4 separate regions of the Homo sapiens genome follow, and all the other regions are linked to region 4. The links are contacts of gene promoters, found by promoter capture Hi-C in blood cells and fetal thymus (Javierre and others, 2016). All regions are on one chromosome and are shown on one strand. The core of a region is centred on a gene start or on the middle of the fragment in contact, and the rest is flanking DNA. Distances in the headings are between cores, read along the strand shown. Region 1 overlaps RIMS1 (regulating synaptic membrane exocytosis 1). Region 2 has its middle 180 kb from the start of KCNQ5. Region 3 has its middle 210 kb from the start of KCNQ5. Region 4 holds the start of DPPA5 (developmental pluripotency associated 5).

Region 1 (6,802 bases), core at 4,141-6,640, 1.0 Mb before region 4:
GAGATTAAAACTTATTTGTAATAACTAAAGTTACATTTATAAATAGGCATATAGTTGCATTGAAACACTGCTATATCTAGTGATGTAATGATGTAAAAGTATATTAGTTGGGAAATATAAAAATTAACATATATATTAATATTTTTATCACTCTGAATTTGAAATTGTAAGAATGAATATTTGACCTGTCTACCTGCATTATGGAAACTGAAAATGGATGTAAATACTCTAATGAGGAAGGATTCTTTAAAGGAAAGGATATTGATTAGAAACTTACCGGAAAGGGTTGATTAGAAACCCACAGGAAAAATAAAGCCAAAACAAAGTTAATCATCTTTAGGTAACTTAACCTGCTGCTGAAAATACTAGTTCCTGTTTATAGTTTCTACCTTGGGAAGTACACTCAACCTATTATTCAATTGTTTTTAAAAAGGAAAAATAAAACAGAAGAATCATTTTAAGAAAATATTACATAAAATTTATAGAGATTTATAACTAGTGTAGGATTCTGTGATCTTCGGCTAATCAAAGAAGAAAACATACTAATTGTCATAGGTTTTGGAGACTTATTGAGAAGATTGTTGTGAATAGCAAGGAAAATAGTAGGAAAAATTTACCTTTGAAGTAAAAATTTACTCTCACTTCAGTTCTTTGGCTTTCTATAATGCTTAATAATTCTGTCTTCTCATGGATCATTCTTTATTCTCTTTCAAATCACAGTTTGAAAAGTATATTTTTGTGGGAAAAATATTTAATAAATCACAGAATTTTAAAAATCTAATTTTTGTACACAGAAAAAAGGAAGGAAAAAAGACTAAATTCAGATATTTTGATGTTGCAGTAAATGTGTTGACCATGATAATAAAGCATATTTTTTCCAGAGCTGCTTGAATTTGCTCTCAGTGCAATTGCAAGTATTGACTTTAATTTCTGAGAGGTTTGTAGCTTCAATGATGAGTCCCTTGGTGCCTAAATCAAAGTGGCTCTGTAATAAGTGAGTTCTGTTGTCTCCTTTCTGCTGATGGCACTGGAGGCAACAGCATGTCTTCTAGAGGCCTCTGTCTGTGCTTTTCTTTTCATATTCAGCATGTCCTAGATTCACTGGCCCAGATAGCACAATACAGCAGGCAGCTTTTTACTCTGTAAATGGCTTAGTGACATTATTTAAAGTAATGCCAGTTGTCTATTCTTTTGTTCTGCTTTTATATTTTCATAGTTGTTACCCATTGCATACCCTTTGGCTGAAGCGTTTGAAAATATCCTATGCCCTTTAGAATTTGGCACTGAGCACTCTTTATGGTACATAAGAAGTAAAAGCATTTATCTTGCCCTGGAGTTATTTACAAGCTCATTTACTAAGTAGTATATCAACAGGCAAAGAGAGATTCTTTCTTTATAGAACTTTAGCTTTTACAAAGCCCTTTCATGCTCACCAGCTCAGAGTGCAAAATTATTGAAAGCTTTTAAAATAAAAGGCTGATCAGATTGGGAAAGATTAGGAATGCATTAACTAAGGAAAGCGTCTGGAAGAAAGTGACTTTTAAAGTAGAATATAAATATCTGCTTTTTATTCCTCAAAGTTTCCATAAATTTTAATATATTCTTAATAATTCACTTTCTTCTCATCTAAAAAATAATTGTGAGAATTAAATACAATTTTAAAGGAGCATAAACATTTCATATTTATATACATGGTATATGAAATGTAATTTTTTAGAGAATTTGTTTTTAGTAACATATCATATTGCATTTATCTTATTTATTCTTAGTTGTATCCTACTCACCTCCCCAAGATGTAAAAAAAAAAAATGCCATTAGCTCTGTTTTAAGCTTTACCTTTGTTCCCACCATTAAATTTTTAGGTCAGCACTGCCTGAAACCAGCAATCATTTCCACTGAACTTAAATGGCTACTGTTTTTATTTTCACTCATCACTGACAGTCATGTTTAGGTGATGTCAAACATTTATTTCATTCATTCCACAGATATTGATCAAGTGCCTAATAATTACTAATAAGAATGGCTAAGAGTTGTTCAGCCCATATTATGTAAACTGGTCCTTTGTAAGGCTTATAATGTGTATTGTCACATTTAACCCTGTCAGCAACCCTATGACATTGATACAAGAGACTGTGACACAGGACCCTGACAATTGGCTGGATTCTTCAAGGAAAACACAGAAGCTGAGAGAAGTTAAGTCACTTAACCATTGTCACACAGCTAGTAAGTGGCAAAGAAATAATTAGAATTTTAGTCTGTGCCTATAGCCTCAGTCCTTAACCACTACACCACATGCCTTCAGTATGTTTAAAATGCTATTATATACTAGTTAAATGTATAATTGCCTGTAAATATCCAGAATCTTCAGTGTCGATGGTGAGCATTTTGTCATTTATAACCAGAAAAATATTTAATTTGGACTTCATTTTTTTACAAGGAGAAAATTATAACATGTATATCTATATAATTTTATACCCTAAGACTAAGCTGAAGCACACCACTATTTTTCATCTTCAGTGATATGCCTCACTTTATTAGTCCCATTTACTTATGAGGAAATTGAAACACAGAGAGGTATGTAACATGCCTGAGTTCACATAGTAAGGGCAGAGCTGGAATTGGAATCCAGCAGTTGGGCTACAGAGTCTGTGCTCTAAATGGGGCATGTCATTGAAGTTGGCCGAGGAGGTGGCACTGTCAGTGAACCTTCTGACTCTGCAAACGTTTTACTGTACAACCATGCCAGCTTCTTGGTAGACTATCTTAAACTGTTCAGAATGTTTCTGTATACTTACAAGAAAACTGGATTCATTTGTTCTGCTTATTTAGCTAATTCACTCATCCACAGGGATAAGCCTAATTGTAGATATTAATGAAGACTGGGTTTATCAGGTACATACAATGAGTCATACTGGCACAATTCTAGCACTCTAAAACAGGTACCATTATTATCATCATTTTATTTAGATAAGGAAACTAAAACTCAGAAAGATTAATTTGCCCAGGATCACATAGCTAATAACTGATAGGCACAGTATTTGTGTGGTAGAATTTATTCTTAGCCATCATACTATTATATCATCCTCAAGTAATTTGATATATTAGCTAACGTAATTCTAGTTTTTATAAAAATTTACCCTAAAAGTATAAAGGCTCACATTTAGTAAAATTCTATTTATTGTTAATTTAATAATTTGAGGCAGATGCTCATGGCAGGCAGTCAACTCTCCTCTGTGCAGTGGTTCAGGTGCCCAGGTTCTTTACATGTTATGCATTTTTGTCATTTGAATCCATATCGCAAAAGTATAAAAGGGAAATGGAGAACATATATCTGACTACTAAAAGCCTTGTTCTAGAAGCATCACACATCATTCCTATTAATGCTCTATTAATGACAGTTAATCACATGGCCAAGCCTAGATGCTGGGGATGGGACCCGAGAAATAAAATCCCTGACTTAGCAACCACTTACTATGAATTCTGTAACTGGAAAGGGGAGAAACCACTAACTGACTGTCACACACACAACTTGAAAAGGCTTTCATTATAAATAATTAAGTCATTTGAGAGTTTACATTCTTTTTTCTTTTTTTTTTTTTTTTTTTTTTTTGAGATGGAGTGTCAATCTTGTTGCCCAGGCTGGAGTGCAATGGCGAGATCTCGGCTCACTGCAACTTCCGTCTCCCGGGTTCAAGTGATTCTCCTGCCTCCTGAGTAGCTGGGATTACAGGCACCCACTACCACGCTCAGCTAGTTTTTTTATTTTTAGTAGAGACGGGGTTTCACCATGTTGGTCAGGCTGGTCTCGAACTCCTGACCTCGGGTGATCCACCAGCCTCAGCCTCCCAAAGTGCTGGGATTACAGGCATGAGCCACCACGTCCGGCTGAGTTTAAATTCTGTTCTAAAGTAAAGTCTGAAAATACTGGTGCTTTCTTATGTTACTGTAAAATTTGTGCACTGACAATGTAATTTGAGAGCCCCTTTATCCGAGTTTCAAAGCCTGTCAGAATCCAAAACTGACCCCACAATTTCTATTCATTCGTCAGTTTTAAAATTTCCTGGCCTCTTTTGACTCTTAGAGTCCAGGTTCCCCTGTTCAATACAACATAGACTGCATAAAGCTTAGCCATTTCCTTGCTTTATAAAACAAAACAGAACAAAAAACGTTTGTTCATGTCCAGGCTTTATGAGTTTAATAGACTTTGATGAAGAAACTGTTAGTCATGGGGGGATTGGAGGGAAGGTGATTGGGAAGTGGTCACGTCACAAAGCACACATTATTTTGCTCTTTTTCTCTCTCTTCTCTCTCACCTCTGATACTCAGTTACTACTTCTGGCTTGTTTATGTCTACAAATAACAGGCATGTACATTTATATATCATTTACTCTTCCAGGTTGTTTTATCAACACTATTTAATCTTTAAAACAAGCCAATGGAATAGGTTCTGCTAACATTTTTCCTGTATACAGTAAGGAAATTAAGGTATAGAGATTAAGTAACTGGGGGTTGGCAGAGCTAGTATTAAAACCCAGGCTTTGGCCGGGCACGGTGGCTCACACCTGTAATCCCAGCAATTTGGGAGGCCGAGGAAGGTGAATCACCTGAGGTCAGGAGTTAGAGACCATCCTGGCCAACATGGTAAAACCCCGTCTCTACTGCAAATACAAAAATTAGCCGGGCGTGGTGGCACGTGCCTGCAATCCCAGCTACTAGGGAGACTGAGGCAGGAGGATCACTTGAACCTGGGAGGCAGAGGTTGCAGTGTGCTGACATCATGCCACTCCACTCCAGCCTGGGCAACAGAGTGAGACTCCGTCTCAATAAATAAATAAACAAACAAACAAATAAATAAAACCCAGGCTTTGCGCCTACATATTCTGTCTTCTTAGCTACTCCATGGGGACAGTTTTCTCACTATGGAAAATTCTAGCTCTTAAGCTAGAACTCTATTTTATTAAATTTACTTCTAACACTAAGCCCAATTTTTTTTAATTTTTGTATGTACATAAAAGGTATATATATTTATGGGATATATGAGATACCAATTTTTAACCTACTCATGTATTTGCTGTAGTTAAAATAATTGTAATGATTACAGAGCACATCTTTAACAAAAAGAAGTAAAATGTGTAATATCTAAAATTTGGAATTGCATACATTTTGTTTCTTAGATGCTCTGTATGCTATGCCCAGTGTTACTTTTTAAGTGAGAGAGTTGCTGTTGATTAACTATAGGAGACTTGATTTATTTCTAATTTTTCCTAGTACTGTTTTGCTATGTAGAATATAAAGATTCTGATGGGTATATTCAGTTTTATTCACCTTGTATTTGTAAACCCATAGAACATCTACCCACATCTAAGTGTAGTTGGCAAACCTCTTTAGTGCTTTAGACCTTTTGGGGTTCTGTTAACATAAGTCTAGGCCAAGAAGTAAGTCTAAACATCACCTGAGGTCTGCCCTGTTGCTACTTTATACATAAAACCCAACTGCCAATGTTAGATTTTACTTTTTTAATTCTTTTTTTTGTGCTCAGTGGCATGTTTAAATATTAAACGCGAGGAATGTTCATAGACCTATATAGCCAAATTGGTGTGGGGAGAACTGTTATGTGTTGTAATAGTGCACCGAAAATGCTATCAACCAATAAGGTAGACAATATCTTAGAAAGGAGAGTGAATACATGCATTTTGTATACTTAACTAAAGTTTTATTTTCTGTTTTTAAACAACAGTTGTGTCACTTAATAATTTTTGACAAAATGAAAATACGGGTTAAAGGGACATACAACTATCTTCTAGTCAATCCATAGTTGATTTTATATTGTCTCTAAACTTTTATATTGTCTCTAAACTTCATCTTTCACTACTTACATAAAAATCCCTGTAAGTATTACAATTTATCATACCCTTAAAAAATAGTTTATTTAGAGGATTTACTTGTATTACAACTAAATCTTAACTTCTCAAAACAAGAAAATATATGTATTTACATACTGTTGTTAGAGCAAAAATAACCTGGAAAATAATAGCATTACAATATATTTGGGGTTGTAAAGATTTTTAAATTATTAAAATTATTGTTCCTTGATTGTTCCTTTTTTCCTTATATCCAAAAGGCGAATTGTGTTATTATTCCTCTTTTGTATGCATAAAGATGGGTGAAAACACCTTTAGAACAAGCAGCTGATTTTTTACACTGAAAAATTGTGCAGCAGTTATGTTATCAGGTTAGAGACTGCCAGTTCGAGATGTTGGATATTTCCACCTCCTATTCTGCATGATATTTTAATAAACATACATGTCTCCCATCTAGTTTCCCAGTGGTTTATTGCTTGGTTAAATGAATCGTTGAGCTCCCTATGAAGTCTTCTGACATGTCTAATTCGATACCTGTCATTTATAACCATCTTTCCTTCCTCCCCCAACAATAACAAAAATATCATAATGAGCATAATAATCAGATTTGCTGATAAAATACACTTTTGACGTTTCTGTGATTACACATAACGACTCCCACTGTTCTCAGAAGATTCTGTTGTTGCGTTCTAGATACTTATTTGGCTTAGACATCTCAAAAAGTACAAAGAATATTGTATATCATCATTGACGTAATTCTTCCACATAATCTGGAAGGTGATTCCAGTCTACTATATTAAGCTTTCCTGTGATACCCCAAACACAGGTTAACATTATATATCCAGTCAGTTGACACAACAATCTCTAAATTATGTCCACTTTATGCTGACAACTGACCTTAACGGTATCTTTAGAACATAATTATTTCCTATCTTTGGAAC
Region 2 (6,446 bases), core at 1,913-4,412, 920 kb before region 4:
TCCAAGAACAAGGAATTGAAAGGCTCAGCTGACGTTGGAAAGCATACATTTGTACAAATTCCAATCTGAAAAGTTTTGAGACTTCTATTTAATCTTTAGCAGGCTTCCCAACTCTTCATGCGGGAAGAGAAAAGGTAGATGATTAATGCAGAAGTGTGGCTTCACATATCAGACAGGACAGAAACACAAGTAGACAAGACTTTGAGTCATTACGAAAGACTAGTAGAAATGGTTTGACCATAGTATTTAAGCCGCTAAGGGAAGAAGAAAAGCCAGTAAAGAATTTATCAATTGGAATTAAAGACAGCAACCAAAGACCTAGAGATCTCAGCTAATTAAAGGGAAAATTTAATGGAAGTAATTGACCGAGTAGAGGAAGAGAAGGGTGTGGTTGTAGAGGAGAATAACAAAGTTATCATTTCTAACTTAACAGAGAAATATTGATTGAAAACAAGATAAAGACAATTTGGTTTAAAATGATCATGAAACTGAGCTTCATCTACAGATGGGATGGTTTATTTCCTTTGGAAATTAAATTTCTCCAAGGTTATGGCAGGAGTTGGAAGAGAGACGATAACAGAGCCAGTTATTAAAATTGTCAAAGAGTGTGCATCAGTGACAGGAAGAACTGTGCATAATTACACTGTTTATGACCAGCAGGTGGTAGAGCTGTATGATATAATTCCAGAAATAATTCTTTGATTTTTAAAGAAATGTGGGAAACCAACAATCCTAAATGGCAATTGAGAATAATATGAATGTAATTCAGAATGCTTTTAATTTTTTAGGAGTGGAGTAAGAAGAATACTGTTTAATTGAAGTGCCCTATTAATAAATATTATACACTAATTTTTATAACTCATATGTTTGATTGTTAAAGTTATGTTCAATACGTGGACAATAGCACAATAAGTAAATAAGATAAATTTTTAAATTTAAATATAAGTCTAATGGAAGGCCTACTATTTTGTGAGGAACAGACCTATTCAGTGTTAGAACAGTGAGTCATCTTATTTGTCAACAGAAAAAGTATCTGCTAATTTAGTGCTAATATTTTATGTTCGTGATAAAAACAAATTCTTAAAACCCCCAAAAAGTTGCCACCTAAGAATATTGTACTTTTTCAAATGACCTGGGGTAAGAGGTGAAGGAGAAAGAATGAATGAAAGAAAAAGAAGCAAGCAAGGAAGAAAGGAAAGGAAGGCAGGAAGGAAGGCGGGAAGGAAGGCAGGAAGGAAGGCAGGAAGGAAGGAAGGGAGGGAGGGAAGGGAGGGAAGGGATAACCTCTAGAAACTATTCGTAAGAGCAGGTGGATTTTACATACACCAAGTCACTATTTCAGTTATGTGTCCCTTTTAAGTGTTAAAAGGGACACTAGCCTATTAAGTGTCACAACGCTTAAGCACCCACAGCAAAACAAACAAACAAACAAAACACTTTGCTGGTGTGTTTGCAGTCAGAAAGGGTTAACTACTGTTTATATTTACAGATGATTATACTTTATAACAAAATGTTCAAAATATTAAAGAATCTACTGATAAATTATCAAAATATTAGAGTCACTTTTCAGGAAAAAAATTAGTGGAAAATAACATACCAAAATATTAAAAGAATATCTATCTGTGATGGGATTACAGTTGTTCTTTTCAATAGCTTCCAAATTCTCTTTAATGAACATCTATAAATTGTTTCTGGAGGCCATTCCTTTACTTCTTTTGATTATTAACAACCTGTGATGCTAAATGTTCAATATTCCCTTTATAATTGGAATACAGAAATAAATACTACTAAAATAAATATAAAAATAAAAGATGAATTATAATTGTAAAAAAATTGTTCCTGGTTCAGTTTAATTGATAGGTTGATTCTGAAATAGCAGCCAGGGTCTACCTTAATCTTCAAGTGTCCGTAATACATTTATGGGAAAGAAAAACACATAGTTCAGCAAGAAAATCTATGAAATGATATGACTTTATTGTAAATATATGGGACTGTAAGTTTTATTTAAGCTTTAATTTTTCAATCCTTATTAAAATCTCTATGAACACTAATAAACATAAAATTTGCATGACCTGATAATTATAAATTATCTTGATAAATCTAGTAAATAGATCTATTATCTATTAAATAGAGCTAGAAATTGCAGTCTTGATTTCTTTCAATACAATTTATCAGTTAGCTGCCAAAATAGGCATTAAGAGGAAAAAGCTTTCATTCATTGGGCTGTTAGTGCTAGGATTTTAGAGGAATAGAATCTTCCTCCTCCTCTTCCTGCTCTTATCTTCCTCCTTGCCTAATGTGTACTGAGGATGATCTTTAGGTCAGACACTTCTCCAAGTATTTTAGATGTATTAATTTATTTATCACCCACAATAACCCCAGGAGAGAAGTACTGTTAGTACCCACAGTTGATAGAAAAACTGAGCCAAAAAGAAGACTGGCAACTTGCCTGAGGTGTAGCAGCCTGAATAGTGGACCAGGATTTGAATACAGGCAACCTGGCTACAGAGCCTAGCTTCAGCTCTCAATCACTATGTTGTTTTAAGTATAATTTAGATTTTATTCTCCCATTGTAAGATAAATTATATACCAGTTATAGAAGATTCATAAAAATGCAGAAAAGATAAACTGTTTTTTTTTTTTTTTGAGACAGAGTCTAGCTCTGTCGCCCAGGCTGGAGTGCAGTGGCATGATCTCGGCTTACTACAACCCCTGTCTGCCAGGTTCAAGCGATTCTCCTGCCTCAGCCTCCTGAGTAGCTGGGATTACAGGCGTCTGCCACCATTCCCAACTAATTTTTGAATTTTTAGTAGAGACGGGATTTCACTGTGTTGGCCAGGCTGGTCTCGAAGTCCTCCTAACCTCGTGATCTGCCCACCTAGGCCTCCCAAAGTGCTGGGATTACAAGTGTGAGCCACTGCGCCTGGCCCATTTTTAATATTTGCATACTTTTATTCAAATTTTAAAAATTGAAAGTATGTAAAAAAGAGATTATGATTAGGTCTTTAGTTCTTCTCCCTGTCTCATTCAAGGCCTGATTTGTCTCCAGAACTAACACAACTTGCTTTTATCTCCCAGATACCTGAACTCCTACAGTACTAAATGTATCATTTAATTTAGCACTTTAAAATTTTGTGATTTTAATAATAAGGGTAAGCAGGCCAGGCACAGTGGCTCACACCTGTAATCCCAACACTTTGGGAGGCTGAAGCAGGCGAATCACCTGAGGTCAGGAGTTTGAGACCAGCCTGGTCAACATGCTGAAACCCCGTCTCTACTAAAAATACAAAGAATAGCCAGGTGTGGTGATGCACGCCTATAATTCTAGCTACTGGGGAGACTGAGGCAGGAGAATCACTCAAGCCCGGGAAACAGAGATTAGAGTGAGCCTAGATCGCGCATTTGCACTCTAGCCTGGGCAACAGAAGCAAAACTCCATCCAAAAAAAAGGGTAAGCAAAGCTGTACTTTACAAAATACACACACACACACACACACACACACACACACACACACACACACATACACACATGACACAGGCACACAAACATACACACACACAAATAGTAGCAAGGCACTCTGTTCTTCTCACCAGTTGGTGAGACAGAATGCCTCCCATCATAGGCTTTCAGCCCTTGGTTCTGCCATTATCTCTAAAATCCTAGCCAGTCTAGGACTTCCTCTGAGTTGAAAAGGGCATAGGTCCTCCAGAGGCTCAACTGAACACCTGCTCCTGAATTGCTAATCACCCACAGGATTAATTCATGAAAGAATTAACAAGATGATCCTTTTTGAGAGAAGCCTGGACATGCCTTCCTTTCTGTCTAGAAATTAGTTACATTAAGACATCAAGAAAGAAAGAAACTCTACAGCTTTGACAGTCAGTACCAATAAGAACTTCAAGAACCTATTCATAGAATGGAATCACTCTTTCTAGGCGATTTGCTAAAATGCATTTTTCTGCTCTGGGCCACCAAAATATTAATCCTGTGTAGACATACTTTTAACAATTTGACATGAGAATTAATTGTCATTTTCTCCTCAAAAAGAACAGAGTGCAGGGTGCCTTGTCACTGTGAGCACGTTCATGTGATTTTGCGGGGAAAGTATGGATTTGCTAAGCTTTTATCTTTGAAATAACTTTCAAAAGTAGCAAATTCTCATTGCCTGGCACGTGACAGTTTTGTTGTTCATGTAATGGATAGAAAGGAAAACTGAAAAATGCTTTGAAAGCTAGACCAATCTAGATTAGAACGGAAGAACAGCATTTGATGGACAGCTTAAAAGATCCAGAAAGATGGTAGGAGGTACTCAACCTAACATGGACTGGGTTTATAGAGTTTTGGAGGATAGAGAAGAGAAATTTCCCAACAGCTTGTATGCCTGAATAAAGAATCAGAGAGATAGGGGAAAAGAGGTTTTAAAGTTATTTTCTCAGTGATATGAATGTAAACCCTTTTTGACACTGGTGTGAGCCATTGTAGAAGAGATTTTAAATGGCTTCTTAATTTTCCTGGATTTCAGATTTGTGTCTCTTTGCCTGCAGCAGCATGTTGAAATTGGCTAAAAGGCTGCCTGGCTTTGAGTAGGTGATAGCAAACTATCAACTGGGAAAGCTCTTCCACTAATCCAAAACACTAAACAGTAGAGAAGGTGCCATCCTACAGATAATGGCTATGATTGCATTTCTACTGAGAAGCAACTTACCAAACAGGAGTTTCACCAATTGTAAGCAGATACAATGGTGGAAAGGTCTTAAGCAGACAACAAATGTAACAGACCACACAGAGGTGTTATCCTGCCAGAAGAAAACAGAGTGCTTCAGCCCAGCTTCATCTGCAAATGAGTGTTACACTGAAGCTGAAAAATTACATTTAAAGAAGACCAATGGATGGAAAACTAAAAGTCTGGGCAGGCTTTCTGGGAAGTGAGCAGGTTCTGTTTTGGTACAGTAAGTTCCACTCCTTAATTGTATTTAATTAATCGTGAGTCTCTCCTGCTGTCCTGTTGGCATTTTCAATACTAATAGATAGTTTAAAAGTTTACAGAAAACAAATATATATTCTGAAAAAATGCATGGATTTTAAATTTTTTGCACCAAAATATACTTGTACTAACTTTTTATAACATGCCTCAACAGCATCTAATTTGAGCCACTAAGAAGGATAAGATATGAGTTTCAAGAGAGCCCCAATCAGAGCAACATGAACTCTGCTAAAATTAAAGCAAGAATGAACATCAATTTATGGTAAAACTTGCGTGGAAGAATGATGAAATAAATAATGCTTTATGAAAGTTTATGGGGAAAATGTCCCAAATAAATCAGCAGTTTACAAGTGAATAACTCATTTCAAGAGGGAATGAGATATTGTTGAAGATGAAGCTCACAGTGCCATACCATCCACACATACTTGCAAGGAAACACTCATCTTGTTTGTGTCCCAATTGAAAAGGACCAGCAATTAACAGCAGAAACAGTAGCCCAACACCATAGGCATCTTAACTTATTCAGCTTACACAGCTGTGAACTAAAAATTAAAGCAGAGCAAACTTTCCACTTGGTAAGTGCCAAAAATGTTGTGCCCACTTGAGCTACAGACAAGATCAGAGTTTTCAATTGAAATTTTAAACAAGTAGGATCAAGATCCTGAAGCATTTCTTTGAAGAATTGTAACAGGAGATAGACAAGGCTTTACTAGTATGATCCCAAAGACAAGCACAATCAAAGCAATGGCTACCAAGAGGTGGAAGAGGTCCAGTCAAAGCAAAAGTGGATTAATCAAGAACAAAGATCACGGCAGTTTTGGGGATGCTCAAGGCATTTTGTGTGTTGACTTTCCAGGAGCAGGGGGTGGGACGCAAAAACAATAACATCTGCTTATTATGAGTGTGTTTGAAGGAAGTTAGCCAAAGTTTTAGAAGAAAAACACCTGGGAAAGCTTCACCAGAGAGTCTGCCTCCTCCATGACAATGCTCTTGCTCATTCCTTTCATCAAACAAGGGCAATTTTGTGAAAGTTTTGATGGAAAATCGTTAGGCTTTCACCTTACAGTCTTGATTTAAATTCTGCTAACTTCTTTTGTTTCCTAATATTTAACTAATCTTTAAAGGGCACCATTTTTCTTCAGTTACTAATGTAAAAAAAGATGGCATTGACATGGCTACATTCCCAACTCTCATTTCTTTAAGGATGGACTAAATGACTGGTATCATAGCTTTCAGAAGTGTCCCGAACTTGATGGGGCTTATGTTGAAAAATAAAGTTGGCAATTTTTGTCTTTTAATTCCATTTTTCCATGTATTTTTTGAAGTCCCCCCGTATTTGGGTTGGTCCTTGTAAGAAGTAGTGAGCCATTTTCTCTCATCTTCCTCACTGCTGAACATCTCAGGTCACACGTGATTTTGTCAAGTGCCTTTCTTCCATGGCCCTGAGGTTTGCAGTGAGTA
Region 3 (6,459 bases), core at 865-3,364, 940 kb before region 4:
ATTTGAAGGTTTTTTTTCTAAATCATAGCAACAGTAAATTTTAAAATTACAAATTAATTTTGACTTTATAAATCCACCACCTGTATTTCTGGCAGTTAAACTATTGGAGTCCCCTTTTCCTTGGGGTTTTCTTATCCTTCTGAAAGCAGCTACAGGCTGAAGTAAAAGTATTTTCCAAGATGTTCTTTTGTAAATGTGTAACCCCCCGATGACATAAAGCAAAGTGTGCATGTTGAGTTTGGAAGGGTTGGAGATTTGAGAGCTAGAAGGGTAACAGAGGGGAAAATGTCTAGAAACAGTGGAGGGATAAAGGGCAACTTGGATCAATGGGGAATCCTGTCTCATTCCATAGTAGAGCAATAGCTCAACAATGGTCAGGCTATATCCTAAAGCCAGAGAAACAGTGGTCAGTCATGGTTCAATTTCACTTTTGTGCTCCAATGTTAGAACTAAGTTTTTCAAAAATTTATGACAGGTCACCAAGTTATAAAGGAAATGGTTTATGAGAGCTGGTTCCTGTACTGTAAAACAATTTCCACTTACTCTCCTCTCTCTCCCTGAATTTCATCATCTCCCAAGTGCCCCCCACCCCCAGGCTCTCTGCTTTTTGATTCTTCCATTCTGAAGAGGAGAAGGCAGATCTTCCCCTGCATTCTCTGCCAAGGACTCACCCCCTGCTCACTCATCTGCGTTCTGCCACCACAACTTCATAGGCAGCTAAGATCAGTGCTCAAATTTTAAAGTTGCAACCATTTACCTTGGGATCCTGTTAAAATACACATTCAATTTTAGAAGTCCAAGATGAGGCCTCAGATAATGCATCTCTAACACACTCCCAGGCAGGACCTATTATGTCATTTACGAGGTCTAGTACAAAATAAAAATCTGAGCCCGCATGTTAAAAAATTCTTAAGATTTTCAAGATAGCAACAGCAGAGCGTGAAGCCAAGAGCAGGCCTCCTGAGTGCGAGGGCTGGTGTGACTGCCCAGGACCCAGGCCTATGAAGCCGGTCCCACCTCCAAGTGATGCAGGGGTTGGAGGAGCTCAGTTTGCACAGAAAGATTGAATGCCCAGGCCTGGAAAGCAGAGCCTTGTGACGGGCCACACTTTCCACTGGCCTTTCTATCTACTAAGTAAAACCAGCAAAAACACTCATGATTTTTCAGTCTAGATCTCTGATTCATCGATTAAAATTGATAAGTTGGTGACCCTAGAGTAATGCTCCAGAAATGCACTTCTTTTTCTTTAAAACACTCTTGATGAAAGCTTTCCAATTATAAAGAATTAAGAAACATTCTTTGAGCCTTTCTTTAGACAATGATGGAAGAGGAAGGAGGCAGGACAAATGGGAAGGCCCCAGAACCTTCACTCTTGCTCTGAGCTTTGCTCTGTTTGACGATTTTATTGGGGGTAGGTGAAGGGGGATGTTGATGCGGGTCAGTCAGGCAAATTTCACTTTTGTGAAAAGATAGATGGAGACTAAGAAAGATAGATTCTCTCCCTCTCTCTCTCTTTTTTTTTTTTTTTTTTTTTTTTTGAGACAATATCTCGCTCCGTCACCCAAGCTAGAATGCAGTGGTACAATCATGGCTTACTGAAGCCCCAAACTTCTAGGCTCAGCCTCAGCCTCCTCGGTAGCCGGAACAAAAGGCATGCACCACCACACATGGCTAGTTTTTAAGTTTTTTTTAGAGATGGGGGTCGGACTATGTGGGCCAGCCTGGTCTCAAACTCCTGGCCTCAAGCAGTCTTCCTGCCTTGCCCTCCCAAAGGGCTGCGATTACAGGTGTGAGGCACCACACCAGGCCTGATTCTTTTACTCTAATAGCAACCACAAACCAAATATAACTCTGAGCTACATAAATCCTCTTTCCTAGGAAATCAGGCTATCAGAACCCTAGTTGTTGGAGAGTTAAACAAAGTTCTACCACTTTAGGGTTGGATTGCCTCTCAGTTCCAAAGGTAACAGGAAGCCCAGTGTCAGGGTATCACCTGGCCTCCTGCAATCCCAACCCTCCTCACCTTCCCACGCTGGACTCCTCCCTGTTAGCTGCCATTAGGGCATCAGATGGATAGGAAGTAGGAAAATAGGAAATTCAAAATAGTGTATCTAGTGGCATGTTCTCACCTCCTAGGAGGCTGTGAAATATTTGTGAATTTCCCCTGCTTTATTAACAGGCAAATAGCAGTTGTATTACCTGGTTCTTCTCAAAATTTAGTTTAAAAAGAAATCTCACTCTGCCACACTAGCATTTGGCTCAAAATTATGAACAAGGGTTTGTCTGCAGGCAGGGGCCTCAACCCTGCCCTCTGTTGGTGAGAGCTAGAACCTCATAAAATAAGCGGGTGTAGTGGCGCATCTCAGCCACAAGATGGCAGCAGTGCTTCGTGCAGGTCCGAGAAGACGCTGAATGCAGAGGGATCTTTTGAGAGTCAATGCTGATGCGCTAGCCTTCAGTAGGGAAAATTTAACTAGGACTGACTAAACCTTAAGGTTAAGGACTAATCTTGTGGGGCAACTGCCTTTTATATGGTGTAAAAATATCTGCTTGAGAATACAGTATAAGTATTTTATAATTATATGCATACTCAAATCTTTTTCATCTTTATCTCCACCAAGAATCAATCAAGAGGTTTTGTTTTGGTGAATGAATTCTGAGTTTTGACTCACCTCCCTTGAGATTATAGGTTCATTTCCAGTCCCCAGGTGTGTGTGGTCAGAGAATCTCTGTCGTTTCCACTTATGGAATAAAGTTGCCCTGTCCCTGGGACCAATGCCACCATGCTCAAGCACAGCCATGTGTGGACAGGCCACGCCAAGGCCAAGTACCCGGGACAGGGGGGCAGAGAGGAGGCATGAGCAGCAGGGAGAGAACTTCTCAAGGCTGGACCATGAGCCACCACTGGAAGGTGCGTAAGGGGCTGCGCACTCTTTCCGGGGGCTGCCACAACAAAGTACCCAAAGCTTGTGGCTTAAAACGACAAGAACTTCTTTTTAAAACAAGAACTTATTTTACCGTTCTGGAGGCCAGAAATCTGAAATCAAGGTGACAGCAGACCCACACTCCCTCCAAAGGCCTCAGGGAAGAATGCTTCCTGCCCACTCCCAGCTCCTGGAGCCTACTGGCACTCCTTGACTTGTGGCAGTAGAACTGCAGTCTCTACCTCCATCCTCACATGGCCTCCAGGTGCCCCCTCTCTTCTTTTTTGATCTCTTATAAGGACGTTTGTCATTGGACTTGGGGCCCACCCTAAGTCAAGGCCTTCTCATCTCAATATCCTTACCTTAATTATATCTGCAGTGACCTTTCTTCCAAATAAGATCACATTCAGATGTTCTGAGTGGACTTTTATTTTGGGATGGGGGTCATCATTCAACCCACTACAGGTGGGAGGTAGGAGATTCCTTGACACCACTCTAATTATTCTCACCATGATTATGGAATTTCAATCAATGTGGAGAAAAGCCAGTAAACATCAGGACAAAGCAGCAAAGTTCACCTGACTATGAATGTGGGAGCTTCTAGAGATGCATCATTGGCAAAGGCACCCTCTCTCCCCAGAGATGTCTCTTTGAACCCCTCTGTGGAATCTGTGAAATAACTCCCTAGTAACTTGAACCCACTAGGATTTACAGCATTTCAAAATGTGTGTGATTAATAACAATCTAATAACGACACTCTAATTTGTGTACAAATACCATAATATTAACAAAAATACTATAATACAAACATATTCTAATTCAATTAGTCTTTTGTGGTGAACAGGTATGAGCAATTGGATCTATAACCTCATAGTTAATGAGATTATATAACTATATACCATTGGGCAGAAAAAACTGTGATAATGCTACCTACCCTGCTTGCCTAAGAGAAATGTCTATCAAAGTGTTTTTAAATATATAAAACCCTCTAAGAATGAAAGGTGTGCTTTTCTTTCTCGTCCACTTCTGCAGCACATACAGGCGTGTGTGAGTATGTGTAAACAACAAACACTGAACCTGATCCCGTGCGACTCAAAGTCCAGTCCTCTGACCAGTAGCACCAGCAACAGCTGGGAGCTTGTCGGAAATACAGACCCTCAGGTCCCGCCCCGAACTGACTGAATCAGACTCTGCTGTTTAACAAAATCCCCGAGTGATTCATAGAGATACTAAAGTTTGAGAAGCCCTGCTCTAAATAATCTCGTTTGGTAAGTTTTATTCACTAAAATGGGAGTCCTAAATATTTTTCTCATAATTAGCTCCATAGGAAGCATCAGGTGTGAGCAGTGGTTGGCACAGGGAGAGAAAGAAGGCACTTTTACCCAGTATGTGGTCCTCCTTTGCTGACAATCCACCCTCCTTCCCCAGCAAACCAGATTATGAACCTCAGGAGCAGTGCCTGACTTAGACATCAGTTGGGTTCACCTTTTATGACTATGAAAGATCAATGGGGCTGCCCTGATTGAGGAAGAGTAAGTACTGTGATCTTGACTCTGGCCTTTTAATGTGGCATTTTCCAAGACAACTGAAAAAGTAACTGCAAGGGCGTGCCAGAAACATTGGTTTAAAAAAAAAAAAAGGAAAGGGAAAATATTAAAAGATAAGAAAGACAAAAGAGCCCATTGGAGAATCCTTTGATTTTTCTCACCCCTGATTCCTTATAGGAACAATGTGAATAATGATAACATTCATCTCAATCAGGTAAGACCCCTGTTGTGAAAGCATTCCGCTTTGAGGTGCCCAGATGGAAGGTGCTTTACAAATAGAGAATGATGGCAGCTGGGTTGGCATTTGTGTGGTCGCTTACTATTTAAAAGCAGAGAGTGCCTGACAGTGCTGCAGGGTTTCACTTGGTCCCACTGTGGGTTGGCGAGCTCCCTGGCTGGGTCCTGGTTGCCAAGGAAACTGCTACAGAAGAGATTGAGACTGTCTGGGTTCTTGGTTGATTGGTGGAGCTGAGAGCAGCATTTTATATAAGAAATACGTATTTTCAGTGACCAGAGCAAAAGTAAATAATGGCTACTAGAAGGAATCACATCCATCTTCTCCAACAGAGTTCATTTGGATAGAAACTCTTAGCAATGAAGAAGTAGCCTTCTCAGGAGCAATAAATAGGACTTAGAAATCTCCAGCTCAAACTTATGTGCTCTATGGGGAGCCATTGCCTTAGCTGGGCACAGGAGTTTTATCATCCTCTTTTAGGCAAACCTGGGAATGTAATGACTAGGTCAGCCTCAGATCACATCCTTGCCGTATGTTGGCACACCACTGATTAAGGACAGCAGAGAAATGCTGTCTTGCCATCTTTTCTTAGAGGGGGGACAGGATTTGTATGTGGCATTTGTTGATCTTGCTCACTGCGCATCTGTGAACTTTTCTTGACTGCCTCCCAGGTAACATCAGCTATTCCTCTGTGTTCCCATAGTACAATATTCAAGTCTTTATTATCACATTCTACTACAATTTGTCGGGGGGTGGAGAGGGATCTACTCCTTTTACCAGTCAAGTAATTTGCTTAAAGTCAAAGATTATGTTTATTGCTCTATTACAAGTGCCTGGCACAGTATCTAACATAGCAGGTCCTCAATAATTATTTGAGTGAATTGCCTGCCCTTAGTGTAGGCTGAGTGAAGGTTGAGCAGACACAACAATGACTTTTTCAGAAAACCTCAATGAAGCAGAAACAACACAATCATTATATGAAAGACATACTAATCGCCAGTAGTTTACATAGTTATTGCATCTAACTTTCGTATTCCTGCTAAAGCTGTAAGGTACGTAGCATTGCCCACACTTACAGGAAAAGACAGTGTATCCCAGAAAGGTTAAGTAAGTGACTTTGCAGGTATCACAACTAGTCAGTTAAGGAGCCAGTATTTGCATCCAGGTCTATCTGATTGCAAAGCAGTGTTCTTAGCCATCATGCCAGGCTATCTCAGAGCCTTCTAATGAATCATGTAGAGCCCTGCATATGGTGTTCCCCAGAGTTGAAGGACACAAGCCCCTTGCAATGATAGAACTGTCCTTGGTGAAAAGGCATAAGGTAAGATAACAGGTTGGATGGGATTCAGCTGGGACCTAAGATGTGTGCATAATGTTAACAGCACAATAACAGAGAAAAGGTATGCTGGGGGTCAAATCCAAGCTCCAGAAATTACTAGCTTTGTAGCCTTTTGCAAGGAATGAAAATACTTTGTTCTTCAGATCCCTCATCTCCAAGTTGAGGCAAGTTAATATTATTTTCTTAGAAGGAAAAATTGTAAGAATTTTAAAACAATATTTGCAAATGTGCATAGTACAGCTCCCAACACATAATGCCTAATGAATTATCACCATCATCTTTACTATCAATACTATCATGCTCATTATAGGTGTTATTTTCATTATATAAAGTGTTTCACTTAAAAGCCTAAGGAGCTGCCCAAATTTAAGCATAATTTGAATATCATTGCAAAACCACCTCCTTTAAAAGGTT
Region 4 (6,517 bases), core at 2,380-4,879:
CGGGTGGATCACCCGAGGTCAGGAGTTGGAGACCAGTCTGGCCAATATGGTGAAACTCCATCTCTACTAAAAATACAAAATTAGCAGGGCGTAGTGGCCCACACCTGTGATCCCACCTACTCAGATGGCTGAGGGAGGAGAATCGCTTGAATCCAGGAGGCAGAGGTTGCAGTGAGCCAAGATCACGCCATTACACTGCAGCCTGTGACAAAAGCAAAACTGTCTCAAAAAAAAAAAAAAAAGTTATTCAAAGTATTCATCTCATCTTTGTAAAAGCAAAAGATTGGGAATAAACTCAAAAGTCATTTTGTAGAGAATTAAATTGAATAATACCCAGCTGTAAAGGAGGGAAAATAATCTACACGTATAATTCCTTATATTTTTTAAAAACTCTTGAATGGACATTCAAGAAAATATTGCTTATTTTTGGGAAGTAGGAAATGTATGATATGAAATGAGATAGGAGGGAGACTTCTATCATTTTAGATTTTTTTTTTTTTGAGACAGTTTCCTTTCGCCCAGGGTGGAGTACACTGGTACGATCATAGCTCACTGTAACCCCAAGTTCCTGAACTCAAGCGAACCTCCTGCCTCAGCCTCTTGAGTAGTTAGGCCTACAAGCATGTGCCACTGTGCCCAGATAATTCTTTTTTTTTTTTTTTTTTTTTTTTTGAGACAGAGTTTCTCTGTCACCCAGGCTGGAGTGTAGTGGCACGGTCTTCCTCAGCCTCCCAGGTTCAAGCGATTCTCCTGCCTCAGACTTCCACATAGCTGGGACTACAAGCACCCGCCACAACGCCTAGCTAATTTTTGTATTTTTAGTAGAGACGGGGGTTTCATCATGTTGGCCAGGTTGTCTCGAACTCCTCACCTCGTCATCCACCCACCTTGGCCTCCCAAAGTGCTGGGAATACAGCCGTGAGCCACCACGCCTGGCCTTCCTTCAAAATCTTGAGCAGGAGCCAGGCTGAGTGGTCTAGGACCTTCCAGCCACAGGTCTCAGGGCTGGGACGGGGGAGGGTAAAAATGCCAATAGGGTACGTGACTGATCCCTTGGTCTCCACTCCAAATAAAGCTCAATAGCATGCCAAATGTGCCTTTGTCTTCTCAGGGACCCACAAGTGGTATGGCATCTAATGGTCCCAGAAACTGCACCCAGGACTTCCAGGGGGTAGAAAAACAATGCATTTACAAGACTTTCATGGCCCTCCCTCTGAGTCTTCAATGATGAGAACCTTAGAGGATAGGACTGGAAGCTGGAGTCCCTCCTCCCTCAGAACCTGTAATACAGGAGTCTACTCCAGTCCTGCAGTAGAGGAAGAGTAGCCTATTATTCATACATTCAAGAAATAATGCCCATTGTGTCAGACATTGTTTTAATACTTCGCAGATTTAGGACATAGTCTTATCTCATTTAATCCTCACTGCAACCCAATGAGGTAGATATAATTATCCCCATATTACAGGTGGAGAACTGAAGCACAAAGGCTAACATATGCCTGGTTCCCCAGCTAATAAGTAGCTGAGTTAAGATTCAAACCCAGGTATTCTAGCTGCTGTCCGTTTCTTACAACACTATCCTTAACCACTATGTACTATACCATATTGCCCCTCTTAAGAACAACAAAAAAATCAATGTCCCTGCCTTGTTGGGGTTTAAATCTTAGGAGTAGAGAGGAGGAAAATGACCAGTTAACACTATCGGTCGAGTTTATAAATGCCATAAAGAAAAAATAAAGCAGGTTAAGCAGACTGTAGAGGAGAGGATCTCCCCTGAGTATGGACCACCTGGGAGAAGAGAGCAAAACCCTTTGAAAATCTGAGATTTTGGCCAGTCACGGTGGCTCACACCTGTAATCCCAGCTACTCACCCATAATCCCAGCTACTCACCCATAATCCCAGCTACTCGGGAGGCTGAGGCAGGAGAATTGCTTGAAAGGGGTGGGGGCGGGGGAGGGGGGTCGAGGAGGTTGCAGTGAGCCAAGATCGCTCCATTGCACTCCAGCCTGGGTGACAAGAGAAAAACTCGTCTCCAAAAAAAAAAAGAAAAGAAAAGAAAACAAACAAAAAACACACACAAAACATGCTACACTAACAATGGTTCTGACTTCCCATATTTTTGTTGGACACATTTGCTTTTCAGCTTATATACAAAATGTCAACCTATTATAGGGTTGTTTTCAAGTGAGTCCAGGTCACTTGAGACAATCATCACATCTCCCATAGGTTTTTAGTTCAGTGCTGCATCTCAGGACCCTGGCTCCTCCACCCTTTTTGACACTAGCCAAGTGTGCCTTTGGACCCTCATTTTGTCTTTGGAGGATTTCAATTAAGGGTTAAGCTCAGGGCCACACTTCAGCTGTGCTTCAGAGATATTTAAGGTAGTACCTACAATCCATCAACCACACTGAACTATCAACTTATTTAAAACTTTATTGTTATTTTTAAAAATGGGAAAAAAGAAAAAACACTTTTTATTAACAATCATCAAAGAAATATTCACAACAAGACTCAGAGCCAAGGGTTTTCCCTTAACTCTTTAAGGGAACAAATGGTTTTCCCTTAACTCTTTAGGCTGGAGCAGATTTTAAAACAAGCTTAAGGAATCACTCTAGCTCTGGCCACAACCTAATCTCTGCAACCCGGCTTCATTGCATTGGCTGGAAACTGGTTCACTTCATCCAAGGGCCTAGTTCGAGGGCATTCATGGCTTCGGCAAGTTTGAGCATCCCTGCACCAGAAATAGCAACAGCGGCGTGAGTCTGGGGGAAAATAGTAAGCGCCCGGACTGTTCTCCGCCTCTTTCAGGGTTCGTTTCTGGGACTTCTGATCCAGGCGTTCTGGGCCTGAGAGTCAGGCCCAGAACCTTGGAACCCGAGACTACTCGGCCCATTCGAACATTCTCCAAGAAACTGAAGGGGGCGGGGAGACGGTTGAGATAGCTCAGATAACCCTGCCCAGTGGGTCCAGCACCAGCCGCCTTTCACCATAGTCTCACCCCTGGGTCTCCAAGACCGACGGCCGGCATTCTGGGGCCCCCATTCCCAAAGGGGTCTTGGGAAGGCCCAGATGCCAAGGGCACCCCTGGTGACGCCCAAGGTGCTGGCAGCGAGCAAGAGAGGAGAAAGAGGAGAGGGCTGGAGGAGAGGCGCGAAGCGGCCCCCGCGAGCCTGTGTTCCGCGTACCCAGTCTCTGGGCCTCTCACCTCGCTCCTGGCGCTGGCGGTGCCACTCAGCCATGGACTGGAGCATCCACTTGGTCCGGAGCTTGTACAAATAGGAGCCGTAAACCACGACCTCGGTGAGGTCTGAAGACTCCAGAGCCTTCAGCTCGAGCATGGCCTTGCTCACCTGCTCGATGTAAGGGATTCGAGATCCGTCCGGGCCTGTTGGGGAAAAGAGATGAGATCCCCGGGCCGGCTGAGACTCCCGAGCCGGGGCAGCCCGCCAGTACTGGGCACACTCACCGAAAATGGCTTTCAGCAGCCGCGTCTGGACCTGGAACACCTCTGGATCTTTCAGGTCTTCGGGAACTTTCACCCACGGCGGGATATGTCTACGTGCCGGGAGAGTTCCCATCTTATGACCCTCACAACCAAGACCACTCTCCAGCGCAAACCAGGCCTAATCACGCCGGCCGAGGCTCAGGGGCGATAAAGCCTCGCACCTGGTGGCCCCGCCCCCGGCCAGGCCCCGCCCCCGGCCCGGGCCAGGACCCTGAGTCCATGCCCCGCCGCCCTGGCTGCGGTCCAGCAGGTTGCCAACTCTTCCGCTTCCCGCGACTTCGGGAGAGCCTCACCCGGGCCCAGCTGTCTCCAAGTTAACTAGGGTTTCCACCTGCATTGACCTGTGTCTTTCGCACCAGAATCCCATGGGCTTGGGAATGGCTGGGGGCAAGGTGCTCTTGCCTCTTCCTCTAGGGAACAACCGGTGGGACCTGAACCTCGGAAAGCGGGCGTCCAGGCTTGAGGGTGCGAGGACCACCCAGTAGCTGCCGAATCGAGTTCCTGCCTCACACGTTCCAAAGAAGGGTCCGTATCCCCTCGGCCTTAAGGAGCAGGACCCGCGGCTCCACTTTGCTGGCGACCCGGACAACGTCCCGGGAACTCTGGAGGAACTCTTGCCATTGAACAAAAGAGAAAACCGAAATTCGGAAACTGATTATCTTACCTAAAGGGATTAGCGTTCTTCGAAGCCCCTGGCTCTAGAGTCTTTGAACCTACCCGGATTATAAAGCTCACCTGTGCCCTGCCTGCGCACTCCAGCCAAAACCGGTCCAGGCTTCTGGCTCCTCTGTAAATAAATTTGGTTTATTCGTTTTTTAAACATAGTGTTTGGAGCGATGCACTGGAGTCACTCGATGAGAGTGTGATTTCACTGTTTTATGGCTTTACAGATGGTGATTAAGCTGGCATTTCCAGTCCTGGTAACATCTAATGTCCCCTCAGCTGTCCATTATTGAGGGTTTCTTAAGGCAGACCTCTTCACACACACACGCACGCACACACACACACACGCACGCACACACACACACAATGGGTTCTTTTGCAACCACCAGTGTAGTTAATTTAGAAAATGATCATCAATAGCTAAAACTATCAGATGAAGACTGTTGAGGAACTAGATAGTCACAAGTTTGGAAGCCCTAGGCACAGATTATGAATTGCAAAGGAGAAAAAAACATTCCTTTACAGTAGAGACTTGGAAGAAGCCACCTTGACCCAAGTTAGCATCACCAATAATGGGACAAATGGATTTCTGGTTCAATATCTGAAAAACAAAAAGAGGACTGTTTTATTAATTGACTAAGACACTAAATGCTGTGTGCATAGTTCAAATAATTCTGAATCAAAGATGGGGGATGCATTTCAGGACAATGAAGGAAATTTTAATATGCCCTATATTTCAAAGTAGTATTAGAAACTTCTAAAGTTTAGAACTTCTAGAGTGGGATAAGTGTACTACAGTTATGTAAGATAAGGTCATTATTCTCAGGAGAAACATGCTAAAGTATGTAGAGTGAATTGGGTTTCTTTGTTTTTATTTTTATTATTTTTTAAATTAAATTTAAATTTTTTGAGACAGAGTCTCACTCTATTGCTCAGGCTGGAGTGCAGTGGCGCGATCTCTGCTCACTGCAACCTCCACCTCCCGGGTTCAAGCGGTTCTGCTTCAGCCTCCCCAGTAGCTGGGATTACAGGTGCCAGCTACCATGCCCGGCTAATTTTTGTATTTTTAGTAGAGACAGGGTTTCATCATGTTGACCAGGCTGGTCTCGAACTCGAACTCCTGACCTCAAGTGATCTGCCCACCTCGGCCCCCCAAACTGCTGGGATTACAGGCATGAGCCACCACACCTGGCCAAATAATCAAATATATATATATGGAGTCTTGCTCTGTCACCCAGGCTGGAGTACAGGGCACAATCTTAGCTCACTGCAACCTCTGCCTCCCGGGTTCAAACAATTCTCCTGCTTCAGCTTCCTGAGTAGCTGGGATTACAGGCACCCCCCACCACATTGGCTAATTTTTGTATTTTTAGTAGAGATGGAGTTGCACCATGTTGGCCAGGCTGGTCTCGAACTCCTGACCTCCTGATCTGCCTGCCTCAGCCTCCCAAAGTGCTGGGATTACAGGTGTGAGTCACTACACCCAGTCATAATAAACTTTCAATTTCCCATCTCCCATTCCACCTGCAGCCCAAGCTCCCTTTTTCCTGTGACCCAGACTCTTATGAAAAGCAACCCTCACTTCTATTTCTGTATACCTTACTTATTCCTAAACATGTTATTCCATGGTACCTTCCTTTGCATTTCAAGAAAAGTCACTCCGGACCTGCACTGTCCAATACAAAAGTCACTAGTCACATGAGGACTGGAAATGTGTCTAGTCTGATTTGAGATATGCTGTAAGTGTAAGCTACATGTAAAATTTTGATGACATTAATACCAAAAATTTAAATATTCTCATTAATAATTTTAGACTGATTATATGTTAAAATTATAATATTTTGGTTTTTCCTTTTCTTAAATTTTTTTTCAGTTAAGACAGGGTCTTGTTGGCTGGACGGGGTGGCTCATGCCTGTAATCCCAGCACTTTGAGAGGCCAAGGCTGACGGATCATCTGACCTCAGGGGTTCAAGACTAGCCTGGGCAACATGATGAAACCCCGTATCTACAAAAAAGACAAAAATTAGCCAGTTGTGGGGGTGCATGCTTGTAGTCCTAGCTAATGGGGAGACTGAGCCACAAGGAACTGCTTGAGCCCAGGAGGTGGAGGTTGCAGTGAGACAAGATTGCGCTATTGCACTCTAGCCTGGGTGACAGAGTGAGATCCTGTCTCAAAAAAAAAAAAAAACAGGGTCTCGTTATGTTGCCCAGGCTGGTCTCAAACTCCTGCTCAAACTCCTGCACTCAAGGGATCCGCCCACCTCAGCTTCCCAAAGTGCTGGGATTACAGGCACAAGCCACTGTGCCCAGCCAAAATGATAATATTTTGGATATATTAAAGTAAATA

The links. The method cuts DNA at HindIII sites, captures the fragments that hold promoters and counts their contacts. A CHiCAGO score of 5 or more calls a contact.
Region 1: a fragment that was not itself captured here is called in contact with the fragment with the promoter of DPPA5 in region 4 in 1 of 17 cell types (total B cells); the score reaches 5.1 in total B cells.
Region 2: a contact is called between a fragment that was not itself captured here and the fragment with the promoter of DPPA5 in region 4, in 2 of 17 cell types (total B cells and fetal thymus). The highest score is 6.2, in total B cells.
Region 3: a contact is called between a fragment that was not itself captured here and the fragment with the promoter of DPPA5 in region 4, in 1 of 17 cell types (naive CD8 T cells). The highest score is 5.2, in naive CD8 T cells.

What each region holds. Positions count from the first base shown.
Region 1 is chr6:72,349,398-72,356,199 of GRCh38, forward strand. The region is part of intron 29 of RIMS1 (regulating synaptic membrane exocytosis 1); the gene reads left to right. Among named protein-coding and RNA genes, the nearest start is that of KCNQ5, 270 kb to the right of the region's middle. The HindIII fragment of the contact is 2,539 bases long and covers 4,122-6,660 here.
Region 2 is chr6:72,433,850-72,440,295 of GRCh38, forward strand. No RefSeq gene overlaps it. Among named protein-coding and RNA genes, the nearest start is that of KCNQ5, 180 kb to the right of the region's middle. The HindIII fragment of the contact is 1,913 bases long and covers 2,207-4,119 here.
Region 3 is chr6:72,410,030-72,416,488 of GRCh38, forward strand. No RefSeq gene overlaps it. Among named protein-coding and RNA genes, the nearest start is that of KCNQ5, 210 kb to the right of the region's middle. The HindIII fragment of the contact is 1,699 bases long and covers 1,266-2,964 here.
Region 4 is chr6:73,350,647-73,357,163 of GRCh38, forward strand. DPPA5 (developmental pluripotency associated 5) reads right to left here and starts at 3,630. Exons shown (of 3, transcript NM_001025290.3): 1 at 3,468-3,630; 2 at 3,207-3,386; 3 at 2,417-2,732. The coding sequence starts at 3,579. The coding sequence ends at 2,674. RefSeq lists enhancers at 2,682-3,183, 3,184-3,683. The HindIII fragment of the contact is 13,079 bases long and covers 2,597-6,517 here.